Linked DNA regions of Homo sapiens: region 2 is linked to region 1. Evidence: promoter capture Hi-C in human tissues and cell types (Jung and others, 2019). All regions are on one chromosome and are shown on one strand. Each heading gives the region's core, a stretch centred on a gene start or on the middle of the fragment in contact. The rest is flanking DNA. Distances are from core to core; before and after follow the strand shown.

Evidence for each region. Contacts are between HindIII fragments. The study calls those that stand out against the background at their distance.
Region 2: a fragment that was not itself captured here is called in contact with the fragment with the promoter of TMEM132E in region 1 in 3 of the 25 tissues and cell types used here (IMR-90 fibroblasts, liver and spleen).

Annotation. Positions count from the first base shown.
Region 1 is chr17:34,578,124-34,581,799 of GRCh38, reverse strand. TMEM132E (transmembrane protein 132E) reads right to left here and starts at 2,218. Exons shown (of 9, transcript NM_001304438.2): 1 at 657-2,218. The coding sequence starts at 723. TMEM132E-DT (TMEM132E divergent transcript) reads left to right here and starts at 2,431. Exons shown (of 2, transcript NR_160787.1): 1 at 2,431-2,929. RefSeq lists enhancers at 2,194-2,729, 2,730-3,266. The HindIII fragment of the contact is 28,166 bases long and covers 1-3,676 here.
Region 2 is chr17:34,505,591-34,509,794 of GRCh38, reverse strand. No RefSeq gene overlaps it. Among named protein-coding and RNA genes, the nearest start is that of TMEM132E-DT, 72 kb to the left of the region's middle. RefSeq lists an enhancer at 1-15. The HindIII fragment of the contact is 6,433 bases long and covers 1-4,204 here.

The DNA.
Region 1 (3,676 bases), core at 969-3,468:
GAGCGCGGAGCCCGCTCCCTCCGCGCGCGGCCCGCGGCCCACCGCCCCGGCCTGTGCGGGTGCCCAGACCCCCGCCCTCCGGGCTCGCCTAAGCCGGCCATTTAGATGCAGCTCACAGGACCGCGGGCGTGCGAGCCGCGGCGGCTCCCCGGCCCGGAGTCAGTCCACTTCCCTTCCCGAGGACCGCCGCAGGAAGCGAGGCGACGGGCGGCGCGGCCCCGCACCGGCCTGCGCGCCCGGGGCGAGGAAAGACGCGATCCCGGCGGATCCCAACAGCCCCCAGCCCGGCCGGCTGCAGGGAGAGACGGGGGCGGGGGGCGGCCTGGACGCGATCCGGAGGATCCCTCGGATCCCTCTAGATTTCCGTGGGCGGACACGACCCCAGACCTTCGGGTTCGAACCCTTCTTTATAACCAGGAGAGGACTGGAGCGACACCCTCCCCCCACCCTTTTCTGGCGCCGGGCTCGGTCCCCTCAGCTGAGCTCGCCGGAGGGCTCGGGGGCTGGCGGTAACTCGAGCTGCAGCCAGAGACGCCAAACCCGGAGTGGCGGCTGCGAGTCCAGGGGGTGTGGGTGCTCCTCTCCCCAGTCTTCCCCGTACCCCCTCCAGTGGCGCCTGCCGCATCCTCACCCCCAGTCCGCGCCGCGACACTTACCGTGGGCGAGTAGCGCTGAGAGGCAGAGCAGGGCGGCGCCGCCGCGGCCCGACATCCCCGGGGCCATGGCCGAGGCGGGGGCGGGAGGGGTCCGAGAGAGCAACAGTCGACGACGACTTGGCCCCAGGCTGGGCTTGGTCACATCCAACTCAGGGCTGCCGTGGCGCCCGGCTGTCTCAGATGCAGCTCCGGGACCAGAGAGTGCAATTCGGGGACACTTTGCGGGGAGGGGGCGTCCCAGGCGCTGGCGGCTACACCCTCGGAGCCGGTGGGGGCGCAGCTCCGGGCGGGAGGAGCCTCCACCTCCCCCAGCTGGTGCCCCCTGCAGGATCTGCGAGGCGCGGGGGGAGCTGCACGTGCAGTCCGGAGCCCGGTGGCCGCGGGCGTCCCGGGGGCTACCTAGAGCCCAGTGCTGAATCTCCCGGCCTCACGGCCCAGCTCGAATCCGAACTCACTCGAGGGTGCCGACTTCCAACGCAATCCCCAGTTTCCTCGGTTTCGGTAGTAACCGCACATGGATAGCGCCGCTTTCTTCCTCCAAGCCCCTGCAGCAGCCCAGCATAAAAATCCCAGGTCAGGTGCAAATGAATGCTGTCTTTCTCAAAGAAAGAGAAAATCCAGACAACTTTAATCCATCTGGAGAAGGAAAAGTTTCCGTGCGGTGCTGAAACTGGCGACGCCGGTCGCCACCACCCTAGGCGACGCCCAGACCGGATGCCCGAGGCGGGCGGCCAGATGTTTGTCCCCTCGCAAGGCTCGCTCCTCCGCTCCAGCGCGCTTTCTCCAGTCTGGATCAGGGCCCAGGCTCCACACAGGCCGGCTCAGCGCCTCCTGCCCAGGCAGCCGCTCGGCGGCTGGGGCAAGGGTGGCGCGGCCAGAACGGGCTGCCCCATGTAGATGGGGCTTGGAGAAGCGAGGGAGCGAGAAAGCCGGCTAATGCGCCCTGCCCCGAGCCCTTCCTGCCCAGGACGTCGACTCCAGCTTGATGACCATAAACGCTGTAAGATGCAGAGGGGCTCCTGCAGCTCACGGCAGCTCCGGGCCACCCCGCTAAGGTCTCGCTGTCTCGGCAGAGAGGCGCGCTGCCCCGCCTCGCTCCTCGCCTTCCCTGGGGGAACCTGCACAAACCTTGAACTTTTCTGGGGTTCAGAGTCTCCGACGCCTCCTCCCCGCCGCCCCCACCCTGTCCCCGGACGCCCGTTCGCCCGCTGTCTCGATGCTGCCGGGCATCGGCTCCCGCTCCCTCCGAGTCAGTTTGGGCGAGCGGATCGCCGCGCCAGTCCGGGCTGCGGGCGGTGAGACGCGGGCGCGGCGCCAGGGGCCAGGGCAGCCGGCACCTGCGCAGCTTGCGGCCAGGGAAGCGGCAGCTGGTGCCTACGGGGCCGAGAGGAGAGGAGGTGCTGGCAGGGGAGCCGGCTCCCCATGGACGTGTGTGGGGGAAGAAGAAGAATCGAGGAGCAAAAAGGAAGAGGAGGTGGGGGAAGCCACAGTTGCACGAAGCAGCCGCCGCCGCCGTCGCCGCCTCCTCGGCGCTCGCGCCGGCTGCTCCGCCGTAAATGACTCGAGAGAGACACACACACTCGCGCTCGCCCGCCCTCCTCCTCCGTCCGGGATTCAGCGCCCACCCGGGCAGAAGCGGGCGCCGAGCTTGGCGCGCTCACTCCCACCCCTCCCAGATTCCCCGTGGTCACGTGGCCCCCGAGCGCGCGGCCCACAGCTCGCGCGCCACGGAGACTCCCCGACTCCTAGCTCCCCCTCCTCTGTCCACGTGTCCATTCCGCATTCCTAGCCTGGCGGCGCGCGCGGCTCCTTAATGAGACTCGGGCCAAGGGCCGACCTCGCGATTCCGCTCGCCCCTATTTTATGTTTGATTTTTCCTTCCCAACGCCGGCTAGCGCTGGGACCCGAATGGGGCCGGCCAGCTGCGGCGGGAGGAGCCTCCACCTCCCTCAGCTGCGTTTCTCCAGGGTAGACGCCACCGCAGTCACTGATGTCCCTTTTCAAAGGATGCACGCTCCCCACCGGGCGCCGGAGGTGTTTTGCAGCCGCTCTTCCAGAGGCGCGGGTAGGGGGCACCCTACCCCCACCCCCAGAGTTCGCTGGGCACTGGCTGGGAATCAGCCTCGCTGCTGTGCCCAGCTCCTCTCGGGCCGCGGGGGCTCTGGGGCTCAGCTTCGTGCGGGATGGGTCCGGGGCGCAGCTGTGGGAAACCTATTTATTCTGTTGCTGGGGAAGGAAGACGGAGAAGAGGAGGGGACAGTGCTTTCCTACAGGTTGTTTAGCAAGCCTTTAAAGAGGCATGAGGTGGGGGTGGGGAACTGCCCCTCTTGCATACTCACCCAGGCACCTGCTGACTAGCGGGAGGGGTGGCTGGAGTGATATCTGTTCCCACCATCAGGCCCTTTCCATTAGAGTGCAACCTAGATCAGACCCGGCAAGTCAACCTTCACACCTCATCTGTCAACCAGGCATCGGATCCATGGCAATGATTTTATAGCTTCGTTGGGTATCAACTCCAATCCCCAGAGGGTGAATTTCAATCCTACCCTGCTCTGGAGGGACAGGGTCTTCAATCCCATGGACATATCCCTACTGGGGAGGATATGGATCTTGAGGGTCACCCTTCCATACCTCTGCACTCAACTGGAGTGAGAGTGTGGGGCCAGGTCAGAGCAAAGCCAGCTGGGGCACTCAAACCGTGCCCTCCATCTGCCTGACTCCATGCTAGCCCTCTTGACCCTGAGAGTTTCCTTTCATCTAGGACGGTGACATTTTGTTTTTGGAAAATGTGCTTGCATTTTTCATGGAAGGCTTCCTCCTCCCTGGCTGCTGGCTGTTGCTGCCTCGCTTGGTACTGGGGCCTGTAGAGGGCTGCTCTGGCCCTTCCCCCACCCCTACATCTGTCTGGAGCTGGGGGGAGGTGCAGCCTGAGGAGAGCTGGCCAGCTCTTGGAGGCCCTGGGGATAGAAGGTGCTGGAGTCGTCAAAGAAGATTATTCTCATTAGGCCCCTAATGCCTGA
Region 2 (4,204 bases), core at 863-3,362, 72 kb after region 1:
GGCAGAATCATAGGTAGACAAAATATTTGCATATTTAAGTCACTGTATTTTGGGATGGTTTGTTATTCAGCAATAGCTAATTGATGCAAACACCCACCAAAAAAATCACAGTAATTCCTTAATGTCATCAAATACCTAATCAGTGTTGACATTGCCTTCATTGTCTCATAGACTTTTTTGTTTTGTACTTGCTATTATCAAGATCCAATAAGACCTATCTGTTTTGATTGGCATGTCTCTTAACTTTCCTTTAATCTACAGTTTTCACTTCCAATTCCAATCTTTTTTTCCTTCTTGCTGGGTCCTTTTTCCTGTAGATTTTCCCATAATCTGATTTTACTGAATGCTATGGTGGATTCCTGTATCCCTAAATTTCCTATAGGTGGGGAGCTGGATATATCTGGAAGCTTGATCAGATTAAGGTTTGATTTATTTTTGCCAAGGTCACTACACAGGTGGTCTTGTGTTCTTCTATGGGGAGGTATCAATGTCTAGTTGTCTTTCCTAGTTCTACTAATCCATTAGTTGCTACAAAATGATACAGCAGTTATTCATTCTTCATTTATCATTTATTTGTTATTATTTATTTATCATTTATTAGGACTGTGATACTTCTATATAAATTTCTTCTTATAAAGTATTTGGTTACCCAGTGGTATCATTTGTGTAGGAAAGGCAGGATAAATGTTTGACTTTTTTCCCTTTATTTGCCACTTTTCAAAACAAGTATCATAATAAACTCACTAATTTAAACATTTTGATGTATTTTAATACAGGGTAGTTATTGTTCTTATTGATGCTTAAATTATACCATCTTTGACCAATGGGAGCCTAGTTATTTTGGTTCCCTTGACATTTTGACAGAAATCCAATAATCTTTGATAATGTTTGGTAGTTTCCTTGTTTCTAGTTTATTTTGTACTTTTTCTTCTCCTGGTTTTAGAATTAGCCTTTTTCCTAAGGATACTCAGTTTTTTTTTTTGACACAGTTATACATGATGTTTTATAGGTTAACTATGATAGAAAAAGCCTTGATAGGCTTCTTTGTTAGAAAGGAAAGGCCAAATATTTTCCAGGAATATTGGAGGTTCAGTTCCTTGGCACAGATAGGTGGTTTTCTCTGAAATTAATTTGGAAAATTCTATCAGGTGAGAGCATATCATTGTTGTGTTTGTAAAAAACAATGGCCAATAGAGATAACAGTTTATGAAAAACCACTGTTTTCTATAATGAAGAAGAAGACATCTTATCTTTGTAAACAAAGGAGCAAAGGAAAGTGTGATTTCAGAACTGCTTGGTTCTATGTACTGGAGATTCAGATGTGGGGAGGCACTCAGAAGTGTGACTTTTGGTCTCAGTCCTGTTTGGAGCCCTTAGCCCTAAGTCAGAGAATGTACACAATCTACCTGGGGAGGCTGAGCTGCCCACTGGGGAACAGAGGTTCTTGGGTGTTCCACTGCTCCCAAGTCAGAATCCTGGGTCTCCTACTAATACCTGGGCAGTTCACTTTTCTCAGGTCCTCTTTTCTTTTATGAGGAATGGAGGTAACTACTTCAGAATGCGTTTTGGATGAAATGAGATGACCACATGAGACAGCAACAACTTGTGCTCAGCTTGGGCCCCTTTCTTTCCTTTCCTTTCCTTTCCTTTCCTTTCCTTTCCTTTCCTTTCCTTTCCTTTCCTTTCCTTTCCTTTCCTTTCCTTTCCTTTCCTTTCCTTTCCTTTCCTTTCTCTCTCTCTCTCTCTCTTTCTTTTCTTTCTTTCTTTCTTTCTTTCTTTCTTTCTTTCTTTCTTTCTTTCTTTCTTTCTTTCTTTCTTTCTTTCCTTCTTTCTTTCCTTCTTTCTTTCTTTTTTGACAGAGTCTCGCTCTGTCTCCCAGGCTGGAGTGCAGTGGTGCATTCACAACTCACTGCAGCCTCAACCTCCTGGGCTCGAGCAATCCTTCCACCTCAGCCTCCCGAGTAGCTGGGACTACAGGTGCCTGGCTATTTCTTTTTTTTTTTTGTAGAGACAGGGTCTCACTATGTTGCCCAGGCTGGTCTCAAACTCCTGAGCTCAGGCAATCCACCCGCCTCAGCTTCCCAAAGTGCTGGGATTATAGGCATGAGCCACCACGCCCTGCCAGGCTATTTTCTTTTGTGTTTCCCATCCTTGCTTAGGAGCTCTACTGCACCCAGGCTTCTTCCATCTGCTTCTTCCCCCAAACTAAAGTACTGTGTGTGTCAGAAAGCCCTGTCACTGCTCTCAGGGAACTGAGGTGGGAGGGAGGAGGCAGTGTGTGAAACCTTAACCCAGAGCCTGTGAGTTTCCGAAGTGGGTCCCCAGGTTCACACAGCCTCATGTGGGGTTCAGCAGGGTCTGGGATTTGTTCCTGCTGGGAACGCAGGATGGTTAAGACTTTTCCTGACCTCCTACCCTAGATGATGATGATGAATTTGATGATGCCAGCAATAATAATTATAGATAGCATTGACTGAGCACTTTGTATGTGCCAGGGTCTGTTCTAAGTATTATATATGTGTTTCTATCTGTTCAAGCTACCATCATCTCTCTTCTGGATCATGCAATAACTTCCTAACTGGGCTCCCTGACTTTGCCCTTGCTGCCCTACTGTCTATTCTTCACAAACTGCCCAGAGAGATTCTTTTAGAACACAAGTCAGATCATGCCACTCCTCAAAGGCTTTCAGTGATTTCTTATCTTACTCTGAATAATAGACAATGCACAGACAATGGACATCTCCAGGCCCCTCATTATCCGATCTCTCACTATTTCTCTGGTCTCATTTCTATCCTATAAAAAAAGGGCATTTCCCTCTTTAGCCACACTGGCCTCTTGGCTCTTCCTCAGCTCTGTCAAGCATGCTCCTGCCTCAGAGTCTGCCTAGGCTGTTCCCTCTGTGTGGACCTCTGCCCTTCCCAGCCCATTCTCTCACTTCCTTCAGGTCTCTGCTCAAATCTCACCTCCTTGGTGAGCCTTCCCTGATTATTCTGTATAAACTGGCATCCCCCATTTTGTCAATTTCTAGTCTCTTATCTGTATGTGAAGCACATAAGACAGTGATAGGTGCATAATAGATACTCAATAAATACGTGTTGAGTCAATGAATGGCTATTAACTCACGTAATAATCTCAATAGGTATGATTATTTTTCCAGTTTTACAGAGGAAGAAACCCAGGAAAAACTACAACTTACCTTAACCAGCAATTTGCTCAAGATTACATAGAAAGAAAATGAGAAGATGGGATTGGCAGACCAAACTGGAAAATGGGTACCAATACTGAGAATCTATGTGCCACACTACCTCTTTCCTTTCCTTTTCTCTGCTGTTGTGTTTTATAGGGGATTCCTTCCTCAGCAGGATCCACATGCACTGGAATTCTGTCCTGACTCCATGTTTGCCTCTTTGCTCTAGAATTTAGGCTGGACAAAGCAGAAGGAAATCCAAGGTCCCCTTGACCTCCATGATGAACAGCCAGCTCCATGCATGCCACTTCCTTACTGCTCAGAGCCTGCTCAGGCTATTCCAGCAGAAGGATTCTCCATCTCTGCAGACTCACCTGCTCCACAGACTAAATGGGAGATGAAAGAAGATGAAGGAGAGAGGAGGCATCCTCAATAACTTCTCTGTTCCTTCTGAAAAATTTCCTGTCTACATCCCAGAGACTTGAAATGCACAGAAATCTAGGGAAGAGGGGTCTAAAGCAGAACAGTTGACTAGGGCCATTTGATGCAGCCATTTTAACGTGTAAAAATGGCCACATTAACTTTTTTTGGCTTTGTGTTTTCATTTTCTTAGAATTTATTTTTAGGTTTGCATCCAGAAAAATTTACTCTTTGTAGTGTACAGTTCTGTGGGTTTTTTACAAATGCACAATATCATGAATCCACCACCACAATCATGATACAGAATACTGTCATCAGTCTCCCAAATTCTCTTGTAGCCTGTTCCCCTAAGCATCTCCCTGACAGTCACTAATATTGTACTTATCCCTATAGTGTTCCTTTTTCCAGAAAGTCATATAAGTGGAAACATACAGTATAAAGCCTTTTGGGTCAGGTTTCTTTCACTTAGTAAAATGCATTTGAGATTTATCTATGATACGGCTGCAGGTATCAGTAGTTTGTTCCTTCTTATTGCTGAGTAGTTTTCCATTATATGGAGATACTAGAGTTTAGAGACACTATTGTTTGTTTATCCAG